Linked DNA regions of Homo sapiens: all the other regions are linked to region 3. Evidence: promoter capture Hi-C in 16 types of primary human blood cells and fetal thymus (Javierre and others, 2016). All regions are on one chromosome and are shown on one strand. The core of a region is centred on a gene start or on the middle of the fragment in contact, and the rest is flanking DNA. Distances in the headings are between cores, read along the strand shown.

Region 1 (4,992 bases), core at 1,245-3,744, 190 kb after region 3:
AACAGAGGTATTGCTTCTAATAGTTCTAAAGATTGTTAAGCAGGGGAAGAAAGAAGATAAATGTGAATGTAAAAGATGGGATTATGCCTTTGGTACAAAATCCCTCAGTCCTAACCATGGAGGCACCACTCAGGTTTGAGTCAATTTTCTATGTGGCCTGACAGGTCCTCTTTTCCATGCTAGCTGACCCCCACCCTGAGCACCATGTCCGCAGCAACTGTCCCCAACTGCTCTCCTGTCCCACCTCCCCCACACTCACTTCACTAAGCAGATGGAGACCCCCAGCTGCACACCTCTTCCTCTCCTCTCCTCTGCACCTCAACATGTTTCCCTGTCTTCTGATTCAGAGAAAGAAATGTCTGCTTTCAAGGTCAGCCTTGCCTCATCCTCAGGCTTCCTCAGAAACCTTGTTTTCTTTTTCTTACAGTTTCAAGCTGTCTCTTGCTGGCTTCCCCCCTTGCACTACAAGTGTGTTCACGTCTCTGCTACCTTAGAAAATGACTTTCTCTGATCTTTATTCTTCTTAACTCCCGTTATACCATAAGGATCCATTGGATCCAATTTTATGTTTTCAGTTTCTTTCTTGAGTAGTTCTATTTGTTAGGATTGATACTTCATAAATTTTATTCTTTCTTGGAGGTCTTCCAAAGAACAAAGAGAAAATGCACTTTTAAAAAATACACAGAATAAAACTCATTCTGTCTTGGAATTACCACATGGATCCAGTGAATCAACCTAAGTTACATTACAAGATCTTAATAACTAACTTGTTTTTCTATATCCTGAAACATTTAGCGATTTCATCATTCTAAAAATTATTTCATCACTACTCATCAATTATTCCTAAATACGCAAAAAACAAACAAACAAGCAAGGAAATGGGAGAATGATGGAATCTCCCAAGAGGATAATCTAATATGTGAACTAAATCGTCATCTTTTGGTTTTCTTATTGCATTGTCCAAAGTATAGTGTCATCTTTCAGGAAAGTATAAAAGAAGGCTGGAGACACCACTTCTGTAGTCTACTTTTGGCTTTCATTGAACACGGTGGAGAATTCAGAATTTTTCATTTTCTACCAAGAAAGCTGACAGAGGAAGATGTTTCACAATTATGAGACTAATCACAACATGAAGGCACACAGCCGTCAGGACTCTAGACTCTACTGATGATGATGAAATTGATCATATAAGTGAAATCTCAGAGCGTGAGTCTTTATATAACAAAATCCTGGCTGGGCACAGTGGCTCATGCCTGTAACCCAGCACTTTGGGAGGCCGAGGCGGGCGGATCATGAGGTCAGGAGATCGAGACCATCCTGGCTAACATGGTGAAACCCCGTCTCTACTAAACATACAAAAAAATTAGCTGGGTGTGGTGGCACGCACCTGTAGTCCCAGGTACTAGGGACGGTGAGGCAGGAGAATCGCTTGAACCCAGGAGGGGGAGGTTGCAGTGAGCCGAGATCGCACCACTGCACTCCAGCCTGGCAACAGAGTGAGACTCCGTCTCAAATAATAATAATAATAATAATAATAATAATAATAATAATAATAACAACAACAACAACAACAACAATAATATCCTAGCTGAATTTTCTCAAATCAAAGAATTAATGGGTGAACAAAAATATATCTTTAGAAATGTATCTCTAGATGAAAATGCAATATAGTATTCTCATCCAGTTTAGTCATTTGACTCAAAGTATCACACAATGTCATCACATCTTGTTTTGCTAACAGGACTTGTGATAGTGTTCTTTCATCTTTATTTTCATCTATTATGATACAAATAATTTTGCAATGTTTAAATTCTTTTATATACATGAAATATTATTCAGCCTTTAAAAAGATGGAAATCCTGTTATTTGTGATAACACAAATGACCCTGGGGGACACTGTATTAAGTAAAATCTGCCAGGCACAGAAAGACAAATACTGTATGATCCTGCTCCTATGTGGAATCTAAAAAAAGCTGAACTACAGAGAGTAGAGTAGCAGTAGCCAGGGGCTGAGAGTGCTGGTAATGTGTGTGGAATGGAGAGATGGTGGTCAAAGGGTACAGGTTTCAGTTGTGCAGGATGATTACGTTCTGGAGATCTAACGTAGAGGATGGTGACTACTGTTAATAATACTGTGTTGTATTCTTGAAATTTGCTAAGATAGTAGATCTTAAATATTCTCATCACACACGTAAAAAATGCTAACTATGTGAGGTGACGAATGTGTTAATTAGCCTGACTGTAGTAATCATTTCACAATGTATATATACATGTATTAAAACATCACATTGTATACCTTAAATATATACAATTTTATTTGTCAATTTTATCCCAATAAAGCTAGAAAAAAATAAAAATAAGAATTTTAAACAACTTTATTCAAGCTTTGGATCTGCTAAACTAACAAGTCAATTTACTTGGCAAAAACAATTTGACTAAATGCTTGTCTTTGTACTGGTGAAAATAAATTAGTGAATCGGAAAGCATCTTTAAAGTTATTTGTTCATCTTTGTCCTCTCTTCACACCACATCAATCTAATGTAACAGTACCCAACTCTTAAATAGAAGGAATGCCTAGTAATTAAAGGTGTAAAGAATTTGATTGAAAGCTTATGTTATATCTTTAACATTGCGTTGAAAACATTCAATTAATACTGATGATGATTTCATTTTTCTTCACTTTTCATTGGAAAGTCAAGATGTTTGTAAATACAGATTACTGATGACAGCAATGAGTTAAATCTGCTCATAAATTTGTGTCAGTGTATTTTGACAGGTAGAATGTATTGTATATCTAACTCCCACTGTACATATTTGTCTGTTTTTCCCAATTTATAATAATCCCAAAAAGGGTGCAGTAAGGGACATACTGATTCTATAATATGTTTTTGTGTTTTCATTTATTTTGTAGACTCATTTCCAATTTAGTTATACTACAAGCTTTGCCATGATTTATGGTTATAACTTGTTTGTGTTTGGATATATATATTTCTATCTGCATACAAAGGCTCTGGTTAATGCAGCCTGATGTTTCAAAACTAAAAAAAAAATCTTATTAAAGTTCCTAGTAAAGTTGTTTTTCACTGTCTCTTTATTCTTACTTCTGTCAGTTTCCTGGTAAGCTATATAACAAATGGTGGCAATATTTTGGTCAGGGATATTGAGGGTTATGCAAACAAGGCACTGCTCCTCTTGCTTTCACTGCTAAACATTCCCCTAAGTAGCTTCCTCCATTTCTAAAGAGCTCAGGGAATGGGATACATTTTAGGACACATGATAAGGCAGCAGGTGTTATGCAGGTAATGGAAATCAGAGGATGAATGGTAAGAGAACTTCCCATGGAAAGAGAGTCAAAAAAGAAGGCTGTCCATACGATTTACAGTCTGGAACGGTTGCAGCAGCATACTGTATATTTACATGGTATTTTACAGTTTACAAGTTTCTTTTTTTTTTTTTTCCCTTGAGACAGAGTCTCGTTCTGTTGCCCAGGCTGGAGTGCAGTGGTGCAATCTTGGCTCACTGCAAGCTCCGCCTCCCGGGTTCACGCCATTCTCCTGCCTCAGCCTCCCGAGTAGCTGGGACTACAGGCGCCCGCCACCACGCCCAGCTAATTTTTTTTGTATTTTTAGTAGAGACGGGGTTTCACTGTGTTAGCCAGGATGGTCTCGATCTCCTGACCTTGTGATCCGCCCGCCTCGGCCTCCCAAAGCGCTGGGATAACAGGCTTGAGCCACCGCGCCTGGCTACAGTTTACAAGTTTCTTTCACAAACACTGGAAACATTTTACAGCAGCTTTCTGAGAAAGAAGTGTGAGTACTATTATCTTGGTTGTAATGAGGAGGAAAGAAACTCAAGTTTGGAGAGATTAAGTTACTAGTCAAAGGCTGCAGTTAGTATATAACGAAGCTGGGACACTAACAAAGATCACAGGGCTTTAGGCCCAATGTTCTTTCTACTATACATGATGTCTGAATAACCAGTCCATTTAGGAAAAATCAGGTATAAAAGATGGCACTATGGTTACAGAAAATGACCTAATGACAAAGGTGAGTGAACACTGAGAAGAAGGCAATGCTGATTTGGTTCAAACACTATGCCCTTCACTGATGTTGAGCAGGAGATTTTGATAATATTCTCTCAATGAGAAAATGGGTAGAAAACAAATTTGGGGGACACAAATAGTGGTAGTTAGGAAGTCTGTAAGTACTATAAACATCAGATTCTCTCTTTTTTTTTTTTTTGAGATGGAGTTTTGCTCTGGTTGCTGATGCTGGAGCGCAATGGCACGATCTCAGCTCACTGCAACCTCTGCCTCCCAGGTTCAAGTGATTCTCCTGCCTCAGCCTCCCGAGTAGCTGGGATTTACAGGTGCCCACCACCATGCGTGGCTAATTTTTGCATTTTTCATAGAGGCAGGGTTTCACCATGTTGGCCAGGCTGGTCTCGAACTCCTGACCTCAGGTGATCCCCGCACCTTGGCCTCCCAAAGTGCTAGGATTACAGGCGTGAGCCACCATGCCCAGCCTAACATCAGATTCTTGACTGGACAAATTGCAGGATATTAAAAACTGGCTGCTTGGCTGGGCACAGTGGCTCACGCATGTAATCCCAGCACTTTGGGAGGCTGAGGCGGGAGAATCACCTGAGGTCAGGAGTTCGAGACCAACCTGGCTAACATGGTGAAACCCCGTCCCTACTAAAAATACAAAAATTAGCCAAGTGTGGTGGCACATGCCTGTAGTCCCAGCTACTTCGGAAGCTGAGGCAGGAGAATTGCTTGAATCCGGGAGGCGGAGGTTGCAGTGGGCACAGATCACACCACTGTACTCCAGCCTGGGCGATGGAGCGAGACTTCATCTCATAACAAACCAACCAACCAACCAACCAACCAACCTAGCTGCTATCAGTCTGACTCTTTTTTTTTTAAGATGGAGTCTCGCTCTTGTCACCCAGGCTGGAATGCAATGGCGTGATCTTGGCTCACTGCAACCT
Region 2 (4,998 bases), core at 778-3,277, 160 kb after region 3:
AACCCAGTGTCCCCAAAGTGGCAAGATATAGTTTTCTGTTGTCACATGACACATGATATAGGTGGCACCTCTTTCTCAACTCAATGTGCATATACGTGTATATGTTTGGTATCGGCAAATGTAGCTGCCTTAATTGTGCAGTTGAAAACGACTGGGGGAAATCCTGCATGCAACATGAAGCTTTTGCAATACTCCACAATACCAGTTTGTGCTCAACCTACAAGCTCTTTTGCTACCTTTGACCTCAGTGGTGAATTGTTCTCTCCAGTAGCAGTTGTTTTGTTTCCTTCCCATCTACCCTCCAACTGCTAATGCTTTTCAGTTGGTCTTTCTGCTTCAAGGTTTTAAGCTCATTAGGTTTTAAAGTGCTTTGGCTTCATAGTACATGGAGTGTTATCCTGAGAAGGAGTACAATGAAAAAATAATATAGCTGACCAAGATGTGAGACAGTTTGGGACAAACTGGGGACACCTGAAGGATAATCAGCAAAGAGGGCCTGCAACATGCATAATCCAAGAACTCCCATTGTTCTGCAATTACTGATAAAAAATGTTCACTCGTTGAGTTTGTTTCCTCTCATTTTTATATACGTTGGCCTTGCCAGGTGCAGTGGCTCACGCCTGTAATCCCAGCACTTTGGGAGGCCGAGGCAGGTGGATCACCTGAGGTCAGGAGTTTGAGACCAGCCTGGCCCACATGGTGAAACCTCGTCTCTACTAAAAATACAACATTAGCTGGGCGAGGCTGCAGGCGCCCGTATTCCCAGCTACTGGGGAGGCTGAGGCAAGAGACTCACTTGAACCTGGGAGGCGGAGGTTGCAGTGAGCCGAGATTGCACCCTTGCACTCCAGCCTGGAAAACAAAAGTAAAACTCTATCTCAAAAAAAAAAAAAAAAAAATCGGCCTTGTAGCTTTTTTTTTTTGCTTTTCCCCTCAGAACATAAACACGTCATCCAAAATAGTGAGAAGCAGGTCACCAGGCATGAGCTCTTTTTTTTTTTAATTGTTTTTTTTTTTTGAGACTGAGTCTTGCTCTGTCGCCCAGGCTGGAGTGCAGTGCTCACTGCAACCTCTGCCTCCTGGGTTCAAGCGATTCTCATGCCTCAGCCTCCCCAGTAGCTGGGATGACAGGCCCGTGCCACCACGCCTGCCTAATTTTTGTATTTTTTAGTAGAGATGGGGTTTCACAATGTTGGCCAGGCTAGCCTGGAGCCCCTGAGCTCATGATCCGCCCACCTCAGCCTCCCAAAGTGCTGGGACTACAGGCATGAGCCACTGCGCCCGCTGCATGAGCTCTTTCGAGCTGGAAAGAATCCCGCTCCCCTCCCTTCCCCACCCAGCCTCTAGCCTCGGGCTTGCACAGAACTGGCGTTCAGTGAACATTGTGGAAAGGGTGAGTCCAACTGAGACTTTCAGGTAAAGAGGGGACATCTGGGTTGGCAGGCTCACACCGACAAAATGCTACTGCTCAGTTCTCTTTGGGACAGACACCTAGGAACAGGAATGCTGTAGTCTTGAGAATCTTAAAATACCACAGATGCAAAGCAGAAAGAAGGGCAGCCCTCGGGCCCTTGGACTGCTGTTGTTGACGTCACCCACCGTTTTCACTCCCACCCTCACCCACCAAGAAGCTGAGACAGGGACAGGATGTTCTTTCCTTCCCTGGGCCTTTGCTGATGTTCCTGCCCCAGTTATTGAACATGTATTATCTGGAACACATCTGCCCCCATCTTCACCAAATTTCCGATCATTCATTGGGTTTCAACAGAAATTTCAATTTTTCTTTTTTGAGACGGAGTCTCGTTCTGTTGCCCAGGCTGGAGTGCAGTGTCAAAATCTCAGTCACTGCAACCTCTGCCTCCCAGGTTCAAGCAATTATCCTGCCTTAGCCTCCCAAGTAGCTGGGACTACAGGCGCCTACCACCATGCCTTGCTAATTTTTGTATTTTTAGTAGAGATGGGGTTTCATCATGTTGGCCAGGCTGGTCTCTAACTCCTGATCTCAAGTGATCTGCCTACCTCACCCTCCCAAAGTGCTGGGATTACAGGCATGAGCCACCACGCCTCACCAAAAATTTCAATTTTTCAAGAGGCTTTCTAGATCACCTCAATCTAAATAAAGTCCTTCCTCTTACATTCTTTCAGAGTACCCTATATTTTACCTAACACTTACCATGGTTTGTAACTGTACATATTGTGTGTTATTTATGGTGGTTTCTCCACCAGCCTGTAACCTCCAGGAGTGCAGGGGACCACCGTGCTTTGTGCAGCACGATATCCTCAGCACTTGGTACAGTGCCTGGCACCTGGCAAGGGCTCAATATAGATCTGCTGTGGGGTCGGGGGTGGGCAGATGGTTTTTTCTTTAAAATGAGCGGTTTGATCTTGGGACTAGTGTCCACACCATCTAAGGGTAGTAAAGGTTGAAACATAAAATTTTAGTACAAAAACCACAATAAGAAATGAAAGTTAGGCCGGGCGTGGTGGCTCACACCTGTAATCCCAGCACTTTGGGAGGCCAAGGCAGGTGGATCACGAGGTCAGGAGATTGAGACCATCCTGGCTAACACGGTGAAGCCCCGTCTCTACTAAAAATACAAAAAAAAAAAAAAAAAAAAAAAAAGTTAGCCGGGCGTCGTGGCACACTCCTGTAGTCCCAGCTACTTGGAAGGCTGAGGCTGGAGAATCGCTTGAACCTGGGAGGCGGAGGTTGCAGTGAGCTGAGATCGTGCCACTGCACTCCAGCCTGGGCGACAGAGCTAAACTACATCTCAAAAAAAAAAAAAAAAAAGAAAGTTATCTTTTTCTAGTGATATAAATGCATAGTGGAGCTAAAGACAGAACCTATGTGGGTTACACAGAAAGCCATCGATTTGAGATCTGCTCATAATATTTAAATAGCTTAAAGAAGAGGTGTTTACATCTATTTTTATGAAATTTATTTCCAAATTGAAGAGGCAGTGTATATAAAGGTAACAGAGCTTGTGATAATTTACAGAAATGTTTGCTACAACATGCACATTATGAAGTATTTCAAACATATACATATTAGGTTTCATGCTGAATAAATAATCCCCCCAAATTAATTTTTATTTTTACATAAAAATATAATATTGCACTCTTAACAAGACCAGTTATTCTGCATATTTTCTCTTTAGATAAATGATGAAATTCGGTTTTTAAAAAAAGATGAGTAGCAACCCTATTCTAATAGGGGACTAATTTAAAGTTCTCAGTAAAAAAATGAAAGCTAGACAATAGCTGCAATTTTTTGTTAACAAAGCAAATCACTTCAACGTGAATAGGAGTAATCTCATCTCTGCACCTCCATGGACCTCAGGATTCACACCTGGCCTGAGCACACGGTGATCTAAATGCAGCCTAGGTATCACTACATGTGTATGCAGTTTAAGGTTAAAGCATACATGGCCACGTGCTTTCTCTCGAATCTATCTTGACAGCAGAGACTTTGGAATTATATTTTATATGGTTTTTAAGCAGAATGTTTTAGAAAGTCTGGAAGTTACAAAAGTAGTACTGTAAACACCATATGAATTAAATTTCCATAACAAATGCACAAGTTATTCTTAGGCAGGGATACATATTTTTATCCCATGGTAACATATTACTGAGCTTATCTGACAGTGTTTTCAAAGCCAATAAAGCAGCACCCCAAGTAAAAATATACAGACAGCCATCATATGGGAGAGACAGACGGCTCCAAGATGTTTAGGAATTCTGTCTTTATGGTATGTAAGTTTGCTGTGGAATACACGAGATTTTATTATTCTTCCTAGAATTCTCAGATGGTATAGGTTAGTAGAAACAGAATGAAATGGTTTCCTAAAAGAATTATTCTGCCTCCTGTTTAAAGTAAGCTTTTATAATTCTGTTTTGGGGAAGAAAATTCTTCCTGCAGATTAGATCAAATGCCTTATTTAGGCTGTGTTCTTAATACCCATGCAAACTTCTTGCATACTGAAGGCTTTCTATTGCAAATTGGTACAGATTCAATGCTCTGTAAATAGCAGACTTTAAGACTTACCATTGTGTTTAAACCTCAGTGACTCAACTAAGGATAGTCAATATCTAGCGTTACAGATTTTAAGTAAAATTTTTATGAAGAAACAGAATGTGTCTGAAATCCAAGATACCTGTATTCTTGTTTGTGGCTGTCAAAAAAATTCTGGTTCTCCTTTGAGCTAAGAAAGCAACTGGCAAAAACTGCCTAATTTTGAGATTCATTCATAGTTTATTTTAGTATTTAGATATTCCATAAAATATTTGGTACAGAGGCACCTACTGAATAATTTGCTTCTCAAAGAAAGCAATTATCAAGTCCTAAAAATTATCTTTTTTTCTTTCCTCTTTTGGAGCATGTGTGTGTGGTGGGAGGAGTATTTCATGGCAGTAAACTTTTAAAATATAATTTTAGTGTGTTTTATATAAACAATCAACCAACCAATTTAAATTCTACTGGTCCTTTTGGAATCATAGAAAAAGGGGAGACCTTAATATTTTCTTTGGAATACCTTGGTGGGAAAAAATTTTAAGAATATCATTTTAATGTACCATGCGAGGCTTAAAACTTGTTGGCTAGTGCATATTGACACAATCTTCCAGATTATCACTAAAATAGAACAGAACTTTCCTCTTAGGATCATGTGACTCTTCAGAATTTTGTGCAGATGAATAGACTTTATCATTATTTGGATGGTTTGTCCAGTCATCCATTTCTTTAGGTTCAACCTCCTAAAACTGGTGAAGTCAACAAATCTAGTTTGGAGTTAAAGTGCTTTGGAGAACGTGAAGTTCATTCGCATTCACCCGGCTGCATAGCTGCTAAGGAAGGAATAGAACATTGGCTGTTTCAAGCGCTGCTGGTCCTTCCGACACCAGGCAATCACGGTCCCATCACTGTTTGCTGTGTACAAATGGTGGCCATCACAAGAAAATGTAAGGCTGTAAAAAAAAAAAAATTCCCATTTGTACATTATA
Region 3 (5,321 bases), core at 831-3,330:
TGGCACACGTTTACCTATGTAACAAACTTGCACGTCCTGCACACGTATCCCGGAACTTAAAAAAAAATCCCATTTATTATCTGACCAGATACACAGTACTCATTCAAAGCCAAAGTTAATTAACATAACTAGTATTGATCTTCTTACCTACGTTATTACCCTGTTCCTTTCTATGGTCTACTTCTTCATTTCCTTAATCTAGCCTGGTCTAACTACTGGATGGCAGATAAAGGCATCATCCTTCAAGTGCAGTAAGGGAGTAGGAAAAACTTGTCTCAAACTAGAAAACTGCCTAGCAAGTCTACTAAGATTTCAGTTTGAAGTCTACTAACATTTCAGTTTTTGTTTGTTTTACTGAACCCTAAACAACCATTAAGGCCATAAACAGACTTAATGACGCTCTACAAGGAGATTCCAGCAGGGCTCACTCATAACAAAAGAGAGAAACCTGTAACACACAAGCAGCTGTTACAAAGCATTTTTTATATATGGCGTTCTCTTCTTAGTTCACTTCACAAAAACCTAAAAAACACTGAGCAAAACCCTGACCCCATCAACTGGTTAAGTGCATAGCAACACTGTACTTTCATTAAATCACTTAAATAGTGTTTAATTCTATTCAGGTCACACAAATCCTTTTCAAAGAGCTAGTGATCTAATAGGAAAAGAGATTGTTACCAAAATAACCTCAACATAATTTCATATAACTGAGACTGTTTTGAGGATTGCCGAATACTTTCTACTTATAAGGCATAGAGTGCTGAACTGCAAACACTCAATTCTAATTTTAAGAACTTTTGGATTAGAAAACAGCTGTTTTGGGGAGAGATGGTAAGGGAAAAAAGTCCCAGTATAGTTACAAAATTAAGTATTACATAATATTTAAAAGAGCTTTCTAGGTTTCTTTCATGTTCTAGGGCAAGCCCTTAAAGAAGAAGACAAGAGATACAGGGAAAGCTAAAGTAGTGTTCAGGGTGGTGGAACCCACTAACAAAACAATCCGCTGGGCACCGTAAGTAAAGCATTCTATTAGGCTGTGACGCGAAACAAGAACAAAGGTTTCATTCCTACGAGAGATTAAGTTTTAGAGCAAATGGACACGATCGTTAAAGAATTTGATATTTCCATGTAAACTGCATTAGCAGGTTATGCGATCCAAACTCACAGGAACAACTCCAACTCTCGGCCATGCCCTATTTCATGTCTAGATTTGTTTAACCGACTTACATCATAATCCAAGAATACGAACTACAGTATATTCTTACAGCAAAGTTATTCCTTAAAAGCAAAACCGAGCCACCTTTGAAAACACGCACACACATTATCCACGGCACTAAAACCCCAGTCTTGACCGAGAAAGACCAACAACTTGGGGGGGAAGAAAACAACTTCAGAGCCAGAGCTCCCAAAGCAGAAAGCGCTGGCGGCTGAAGGGCACACGAGGTTCCGCTCCCGGGCGAACGGGCGGCGTCGGACATCACTAACCAGGCCTGGGGACAGGCGAAGGACTTGCAACTGCGGGCGCCGGCTCTGCGGGCGTTAAGGGAAACGGGGAAGTGAGAAGAGGCGGGGACACGAAAAGAGAAAAGCTCCCTCAAGTTTGCCCGATGTTAACGCTCCAAGGATGAAAAGAGCCGTTTGTTTCGTCTGGGGACCGTCGCGTTTGGCCCTTCCCCCGCCTCCAACAATTCCCGGCGAAGCCCCGCGGCACCAAGCCGGGCCTCCCACCCCCCCGGCGGCCGCCAACCCGCCCGGCCCCAGGACCTCACCTGCAGGGCCGGCCCCGGAGGCGCAGGCGGGCGGCGGGGAGCGCAGCCGCAGCCAGAGGTGCAGCGCGGCCCCGAGCACACACGGGCACAGCAGCACCAGCCAGTTTCGCATTGGCCGCCCCCGCCGCGAGCCGGGCTCTCCCGCGTCCCGGCGGAGAGGGAGGGGACCTGCAAGTGCGGAGACTGAGGGGCGGCGGCTGACGAGCGACCACTCCGAGCACGCCCGCCCTCGCGCTCGGCGACGTCTGGGGGGCTCCTCGCAGCTCCCGGCCCCGCTCCTCCGGTCCCTCAGACCGCGGGTGGCCGCGGCTTAGCCGGCCGAAGCCCCGCCCCCTCCGCCTGGCCTTCCCACCGGCTCCGCCCACCTTTTCTCCCACTCGCCCCGCCCTCTCCTCCCGCGTTTCCACACGCGCCAGCCAGCCGGCCGGGAGCTGAAGTCCCGCTCTGGGCCCAGGCAGGGGGCGCCCGCGGTTTAGAAACCACATTTCCCATGAGCCTAAGCACGCGCTTCCGTCACTCGGCGGCCGCGGGGGCGAAGGGCGAGGCCCCACACAGAGCATGCGCATCCCCCTTGACGTTTGCTGCCACCCCACGGCCCAGGGGAGGTAGTGCCGGAGACCCGGTGCTCGGAGGCTGCCCGGAGCCGCGAAGGGAAATGCGCTTTGCCTCAGATTTGAAGGAAATCCGAGTGGCTCTTGTGTGAAATCACGCAGAGCTCCTTTGTTCCGCGTGCTCTCTTGCTCGACTGCTGTGGGAGGTGGGATCCTGCTGACGTCTCCTTGGCCCGTAGAGTGGGGCGAGGAAGCCCGAGTGTCCGCGCCTGGAGCGGTGACTCATCAGGGATTAGCTCTGGTGCCGTGGGTTCCCGGCTCTTTGCCCGGTTCTGTGCTCTGGGAACGCAGGGTGACAGACAGCGAGCTGGGGACTAGGCTGTGGAACACGATGATGACGAGCCAATCAGGGTAGAACTGCACGTGCTCCGGGTTCATACTGGAGCTGGGAGCGAAACGGGAGCCGGGCGAGCTGGGAGAACGTGGGCTCCGGGGACCTGGGGAAGGGTGGCCGCAGCGAGCCTTCCAGGGAGAACGCCGGCCCCGCGTCTTGAGGCTTTGCCCCGGGTGGGAGCCCTCCTGGCCCACCAGGCCCGCGCCGAGGCAGCCGGAAAGCGGGGACGGGGCGGTGAAGGCACTGGGGTGAGGATGGGAGAGAAGGATGAGAACGAGCGGCTGGGCTATGGGGCGGTTTTTGTTTCTGCTTTTGTTTTTGAGACGGAGTCTCACTCTGTCACCCAAGCTGTAGTGCAATGGCGCGATCTCGGCTCGCTGCAACCTCCGCCTCCTGGGTTCAAGCGATTCTCCTGCCTCAGCCTCCTGAGTGGCTGGGATTACAGGCGCCCGCCACTGCGCCCAGCTAATTTTTGTATTTTTTTTGTAGAGACGAGGTTTCGCCATGTTGGCCAGGCTGGTCTCCAGCTCCTGACCTCAGGTGATCCGCCCGCCTCGGCCTCCCAAAATGCTTGGATTACAGGCGTGAGCCACCGCGCTCGGCCGCGGTTTTTTTTTTTTTTTTTTTAAGTTTCCACAAGTGTGGAAACAGAAGGTGACTGTATTATTGAAAAAAAGTCTTGGATGACAGAAGACCCAACTCAAACAGGCTTAAGGGAAAAAAGTACTTTGGCTCGCCGTGGCTCATGCGTGTAATCCCAGCACTTTGGGAGGCCGAGGTGGGCGGATCACTTGAGGGCAGGAGTTCGAGACTAGCCTGGGTAACATGGTGAAACCCTGTCTCTACTAAAAATACAAAAATTAGTCTGGCGTAGTGGTGGGCACCTGTAGTCCCAGCTACTCAGGAGGCTGAGGCAGGAGGATCGCTTGAACCCAGGAGGCGGAGGTTGCAGTGAGCCGAGATCGCGCCATTGCACTCCAGCCTGGGTGACAGAACGAGACTCTGTCTCAAAAACAAACAAACAAACAAAAAAAAAATAAAAAGAAAAGGCAAGAAAGTAATAATTGGTTGCCAGAAAAAGTATACTATTTTTATCCTCAGGAAAGGTAGTAAATGGCCTCTGTTGATATTGTAAAATTTTCATTTTGTGAATTAGAATGAGTTATCCTAAAAAGAGGACTAATCCCTCATTTCAGCAGAGCTAGTCATTCGACAAATACTTATTGAGTGTCTATTATGTACCAGACACTTTTGTAGGTACTTTAGATACACCAGTGAACAAAATAAAGATCCCTATCCTGTGTTGATGGGGAGTAGGGCGCAGACTATAGACATAATAAAGAAATATACTCAACCAGCATGTTAGAAGGTTATTCCTGCTCTGGAAAATATAACAATTAGGGCCGGGTAGGGGAATTGTGAGTGTGGGATTGAAATGACACAGATTGCAGTATCAACTAGCAGTATTTAAACAACTGTTCAAAGTTACAATGAGCACTAAAGGGAAGAATAAACATAAGTCATCCGAATATATTAAATAATCAAGGTGTTGTTTCACTTAACAACCTAGAGGGGAAGTTTTTCACTGGCTCTCTGACAAGCTTGTAACAAAAATAGTTTTGAATAACTTTGTAACATCCTTCAAATCACATCAGAGTGGGAGCTGTCTATAGTACTTGTTCATAGGACCAGTGACCTTTCCACTTACCTGTTTTCTACTGTCCCCTAATAATCTCATGACTAAAGTGAGTGAAGATTGCAAGACAGTAATTCCTGTAATCCCAGCACTTTAGGAGGCTGAGGTGGGAGGATCACTTGAGTCCAGGAGTTCAAGACCAGCCTGGGCAACATAGCAAGACCTCGTCTCTACAAAAAATTAACAATTAGCTGGGCATGGTGGTATACGCCTATAGTTCCAGCTACTCGGGAGGCTGAGGCAGGATGATCACTTAAGCCCCAGAGTTCAAGGTTAGAGTGAGCTATGATCACACCACAGGACTCAGTCTGGGTGACAGAGTGGGACCTTGTTTCTAAAAAAAAAAAAAAAAGGTAAAAGTGACAGTATGTGTAATGGAAAGAATAAAAAAACTCAGTAGTGATATAAACAGTCTGTGCACTCAAGGGGCTCATAGGGTAAGTAGGAACAAGTTAACAGAATTAGAATTAGGGAGAGACAAACTAGGGTGGTTGGTAACCATGATGGCAATTCAATGTGATAAGTGCTCTGAGAAAGGAATGCACAGGATGTTAGAGCAGCACAAAGCAGGGGGTACAGCTGTCTCTACTCATGGGGGATTGGTTCTGGACCTTCTATGGATACCAAAATTCATGGATGCTCAAGTCCCTTATATAAAATGGTATAATATTTGCATATAACATACACACATCCTCTCATATACGCGAAATCATCTCTAAATTACTTATAACACCTAATATGATGTCTACGCATCACTTCATTCACGTGGATTCAATGGCATGCGCAAATTCAAGTTTGCTTTTTTCCTGAATTTGAGGTTGGTTGAATTCATAGATGCAGTACCCAGGGATATGGAGGGCCAACTATATTTAACTCTACTCAAGGGTCCCCAGAGGAGGCTATCTCTTGAA
Region 4 (5,405 bases), core at 1,238-3,737, 230 kb after region 3:
GTGGCCCTTACATGCTGTAGATATTACACCTGATTCTACTGTGTACAGTATGTATTATTTAGACAATAATGTTGCCAACAAGTTAAACATATATATTTTACTTTAAAAATCAGCATTGACACAAATATCACTGTATTTAGTTTTATGACATTTTAAACTGTGAATAGTATTAAATGTCAGCAAATGGATCTGGAAATGATTACATTTTGGGTGATATTTAAATTAACATGCTGAATCACATCGTGTCATTTCCCAAAAGCAAAAGATGAACATATGCAATGGTGAAAATAGTACAGCTCATTTTAATGCAACATTTTAAATTAGTCAGAGACAGCTGCTACCTGACCAAAAGAGAAAAATGAACAGAAGCTCTGTGAGTAAAAGGCCTAAAGAGTTGGCAAATAAATAAAAACGGTACATGACTAAAAGACTTTCCTAAGTGTGTCTTAAAGGTAATGATCTTGATATAACTTTAAAAATATTTCAGTTTGGTATTCAATGACATTCAAAAATTATCTTGAAAAACTATCAGAAATGTTTTTATTCATTGTGAATATCAAAGGAAACACATGATTTTCTTAAACGCTTAAGTTGTTTCTAATATCTCATTTTAATACCCTCTGATCACTTACTGATGATCATTTCAGGGACTATAAAAGGTGTCACTGGGAATAGATAACAAAAAACTCTTATTTTCAGCCCTTAAAAAACTGATTTAAGGAATTGAATCTGTTAAACATGAATCCTTAGAAAATAATAAAGTGCTAAAATATGTAAAATATTTCTTTTCAAAGAAGGTTCTAAGAAGGAAGAGTTCTGAGTAGACTACAGAAAGGGAGAAAGGTTTTAAAGAAGGTATAGAGTGATCTGGGTCATGGCCAAATGAATGGATAGAATGAGGATATAGATAGACAAAGGAGAGAGAGGTGTTCTGTGCTGGTGGACAATATGAATAAAACAGCATGACTGTAAAAATAAACAGGATGTGAAGAGGTTGCAAGACACAAAGATATGATTATCTTGAAAAGAAGAGGGTCAGCAGGCTGGAGAGTTAATCAGAATCAAGTTGTAATGGCAAAGAAGTCTGGGGCTTAAAAAATCCAGGCACATTCCAAATGAAATACAAATTAAATGTATGCAGCTGTGAAAAGGCATAAAGAAGATCACTCTGTACTACTATGTAATAATGATCTCTAGGATATACTAAGTGAAGAAAGTAAGGTGCAGAAGAGTGTGTATACTTTGCTATCTTTCTTTGTGTTATGAAGTAGGGGACAGAATATTTACATGTGTAAATACATGTATACATAGATTTGCTTGTATCTTCAACAGAAAAAAAAAGTCAGTTACCTACACAGAGAGGGAAAAAATAAGAGGAGCGGAAAGGGATAAAAGCTAGAACCTCTCTGAATGTGCTGTTTCACAACGTTGCTTTTAGAACCATGTAGACATTTCACATGATTAAAAACAAAATTAAGCAAACAAACAAAAACCCAAAGGAATCCCAAAAAACTATAAAACAAACTGGAAAAAAAAGCCTACCTACCTATCTAATTGGTTGAAGTTGGCAGCCTGACCAAATAAAGAAAACTATTTTAAGTGCTTTTATAATACAGTATTTTCACTGTATAACCATAATAGTATGCTAAGAAAAAAAGAACCACAAAGACATCTTCAACTGCACTCAGCAGGATTGTTATTAGTGATCATGTTGATCATCTTATTTTGAAAATGTTATATATGTAGAAAGACAAGGCAAATAAGTGATTATGTTAATGTTAGGAACCAAGATATCAACATTAGTAAGAAATACAAATAAAAGAATCCAAGAAAAAGTGAAAGTATAAACTCATGACTTGTCTTTCTAAAAAAATACTTATTTCCTAGCTTTGTCCACTAAAAAAGGCTGAGAAGAAATGACAACCCAGGAGAAATAAACATACCTAGTCCTTAGATTTGTAGTCTCTAAATACTATCATCTCCTTAAAAGGATATAAGGTCTTCTTGGGAGGGAAGTTAGGTTCTAGGTTTGGGGAAGGAATTGCATAAGGTGGGCCTGGGACATTCTTCTGTGCCAGAAAACAAGGAAGTTTAATCATATTAACTTGTTAAAATGAAAAAGGCCATGTCGACACAACAACTTGAATCTACAGAGGTGTTAATTTTAATATCAAACTGAATAATGACTGCAATAGACTAAAACACATAACATTTATTTTAAAATACCTGAGCTCCTAATGACACTCCAAAAATAAAAACAAATACAAGAATTAGAGGCTACTAGGGGCATGAATTCATCATTCCAAAAATTAATAAACAGGGAAGGAAACAGCATTTATCCTGCTTTTCCTTGACTGACTGTATTTAAAGGTAGCGAAGGTGCTGGAGCCGCTGCCGACGAGTCTGGATCTCACTGCCGCGTGCCCCAACACCCGCCGGACGTGCATTCTCGATTCCTTTTGTTTCCAAGTCCAATATACTCTCAAGTATACGCTCAAGGATCAGCTTATTCACAGTCTTCTAAAGGAAGAACAGATCCTCCAGAATAAGATTACAGTTGTTGGGGTTGGTGCTCTTGGCATGGCCTGTGCCATCGGTATCTTAATGAAGGACTTGGCAGGCGAACTTGCTCTTGTTGATGTCATGGAAGACAAATTGAAGGGCGAGATGATGGATCTCCACCATGGCAGCCTTTTCCTTAGAACACCAAAGATTGTCTCTGGCAAAGACTATACTGTAACTGTAAACTCCAAGCTGGTCACTATCACGGCTGAGGCACATCGCAAGAGGGAGAAAGCCATCTTAATTTGGTCCAGTGTAATGTGAACATCTTTAAATTCATCATTCCTAATGTTGTAAAATACAGCCCGAACTGCAAGTTGCTTATTGTTTCAAATCCAGTGGATATCTTTGACCTATAGTGGCTTGGAAGATAATGGCTTTCCCAAAAACCATGTTATTGGAAGTGGTTGCAATCTGGACTCAGCCCAATTCCGTTACCCAATGGGGGAAAGGCTGGGAGTTCACACATTAAGCTGTCATGGGTGAGTCCTTGGGGAACATGGAGATTCTAGTGTGCCTGTATGGAGTAAAGCAAATGTTACTGGTGTCTCCCTCAAGACTCTGCACCCAGATTTAGGGACTGACATAGATAAGGAACAGTGGAAAGAGGTTCACAAGCAGGTGGTTGAGAGTGCTTACGAGGTGATCAAACTCAAAGGCTACACATCCTGGGCCATTGGACTCTCTGTGGCAGATTTGGCAGAAAGTATAATGAAGAATCTTAGGCGGGTGCACCCAATTTCCACCATGATTGGTGGAATAAAGGATGATGTCTTCCTTAGCATTCCTTGCATCTTGGGAGAGAATGGAATCTCAGACCGTGTGAAGGTGACTCTGACTCCTGAGGAAGGGGCCCATTTGAAGAACAGTGCAGATCCACTTTGGGGGATACAAAAAGAGCTGCAATTTTAAAGTCTTCTGATGTCATACTATTTCACTGTCTAGGCTACAATAGGATTTTAGTTGGAGGTTGTGCATATTGTCCTTTTTATCTGATCTGTGATTAAAGCAGTGATGTTAAGATGGATTGGGAAAAACATCAATTCCTAAGGTTAGAAATAGGAATGGTTTGTAAAATCCTACAGTATATTCTGTAGGTACTATATCCTGTAGGTAGCTATAACTTGTAGTACCATTCTGTAGGCTGGATGGTACTAATCTTGTGTAGTCCTAAACTGGTTTGTGTGAAATAGTTCTGACACCTCTAAGGCACCACTGCCAATGCTGCACATGCTGCAGTTGGCCCTTGAGCCAGATGGATGTTTACCGTGTGTTATATAAATAACTTCCTGGCTCCTTCATTGAACATGTCTAGTCCAACATTTTTTCCCAATCAGTCACATCCTGGATCCAGTATATAAATCCAATATTGCATGTATGGTGCATAATTGTTCCAAAGGATCTTATTTTGTGAACTATATATATCAGTAGTGTACATTACCATATTATGTAAAGAGATCTACATATAAACAATGCAACCAACTATCCAAGTGTCATACTAACTAAAACCCACAATAAACCTTGAACAGTGAAAAAAAAAAATAGAAAAAAAAAAAAACGTAGTCAAATAGTTGACAAGGGAAAGTTCTTCCCTATAGTAAAGTCAGAGCTTATAGATGCTGATGGAATGAGAGACTTAGAGAAATCACTATTTTGTAACTCTTTAATGAAAAAGTGGATCTTGGCAATTATCATCAGTGGCTGCTAAAACTATTAGGTTAAAGATAATATCCTCAGTCTTCGTGGGTGAATAAACAACTGGCCTTGGTGACGAAATGGATTGAGAAAGAGAAGAAAAAGTCAACGACAACCACAGTTAAAAATTTCAAGCTGAAATTCAATAATGATACCACTGACAGACACGAAGTAGTGGGAAAGGGAAGATGGTATGAGAAAAAGTGGACTGTTAACACCGCAGTTGAATTTTGATGGATAGCAACTTTGCTGAGTATAAAGGAAAGAAAAAAACACCATTTCAAATTCTCCACAGAAGGAAAATACAGGCTAAATATGCTTCTGTCTTGGGAAAAGGAAGACAGTGCCCTCAGTGTACTTGAAAGTGTCTTAATACTGGAAAAAGCACCTAAAAGTATTCCTTCCAGATAGTTTTGACTCCTAATATGATATGTGTTTTCCATGTATTAAAGGGGATACCTATCCTTTTTAATATATCCTCTCTCATCTCTATTGAGGTATAACTTACATATAATAAAGCATAGATATATTAAGTGTTTCTATGAGTTTTGACAATTGCATACATCCATTTAACCACTACTCAAAATAAGACCTTATTTTTATCACCCCAGAAAGTTCCCTTAAACCTCTTTCCAGTCAATTCCCTTTCTCACCGTCCCCCTTCCACAGAGACAACTACTGTCCTGAATTCTATCGTCATATCTTGGTTTTGCTTGTTCCTTCAGATGAATAGAATCACAGATTGTACTCCTTTGTGTTTGGCTGTCCCTTTCCCCACTCAATGTTTCTGAGATTCATCCATAATGGTAGATGTACCAGTAGTCTGTTCCTTTTTAGAGCTGTATAATAGTCTATATGGTGCTGTAGAATAGTCTATACAGATTTCTCTCTACAGGTATAAAGAAATCACAATGTGTTTGTACATTCTTCTGTTGATAAGCATTTGAATATTTGTAGTTTTTGGCCATTATGAAAAAGGCTGACATAGATATTCTTAAACAAGCTTTTTTATGAACATATGTTTTAATTTCTTTTTCAGGTAAATATCTAAAAATGGAGTAACATGGTGACAAGTTAAATATATGTTTAATTTTTTAAGAAACTGTTAAACAGCCCTCCAATATGGTTTAATGTACCTTTTAAACTTT

The links. The method cuts DNA at HindIII sites, captures the fragments that hold promoters and counts their contacts. A CHiCAGO score of 5 or more calls a contact.
Region 1: a fragment that was not itself captured here is called in contact with the fragment with the promoter of B3GALNT2 in region 3 in 1 of 17 cell types (M1 macrophages); the score reaches 6.1 in M1 macrophages.
Region 2: a fragment that was not itself captured here is called in contact with the fragment with the promoter of B3GALNT2 in region 3 in 1 of 17 cell types (M2 macrophages); the score reaches 6.5 in M2 macrophages.
Region 4: a fragment that was not itself captured here is called in contact with the fragment with the promoter of B3GALNT2 in region 3 in 3 of 17 cell types (erythroblasts, activated CD4 T cells and megakaryocytes); the score reaches 6.8 in erythroblasts.

The regions. Positions count from the first base shown.
Region 1 is chr1:235,687,473-235,692,464 of GRCh38, forward strand. The region is part of intron 47 of LYST (lysosomal trafficking regulator); the gene reads right to left. Among named protein-coding and RNA genes, the nearest start is that of GNG4, 40 kb to the left of the region's middle. The HindIII fragment of the contact is 225 bases long and covers 2,383-2,607 here.
Region 2 is chr1:235,658,117-235,663,114 of GRCh38, forward strand. It overlaps LYST (lysosomal trafficking regulator), which reads right to left. Exons shown (of 53, transcript NM_000081.4): 53 at 2,925-4,962. The coding sequence ends at 4,824. Among named protein-coding and RNA genes, the nearest start is that of GNG4, 11 kb to the left of the region's middle. The HindIII fragment of the contact is 3,698 bases long and covers 179-3,876 here.
Region 3 is chr1:235,502,372-235,507,692 of GRCh38, forward strand. It overlaps B3GALNT2 (beta-1,3-N-acetylgalactosaminyltransferase 2), which reads right to left and starts at 2,081. Exons shown (of 12, transcript NM_152490.5): 1 at 1,770-2,081. The coding sequence starts at 1,881. RefSeq lists a silencer at 1,610-2,249 and enhancers at 2,183-2,859, 2,560-2,679. The HindIII fragment of the contact is 19,953 bases long and covers 1-5,321 here.
Region 4 is chr1:235,735,516-235,740,920 of GRCh38, forward strand. The region is part of intron 31 of LYST (lysosomal trafficking regulator); the gene reads right to left. It also overlaps the pseudogene LDHAP2. Among named protein-coding and RNA genes, the nearest start is that of GNG4, 88 kb to the left of the region's middle. The HindIII fragment of the contact is 5,542 bases long and covers 1-5,258 here.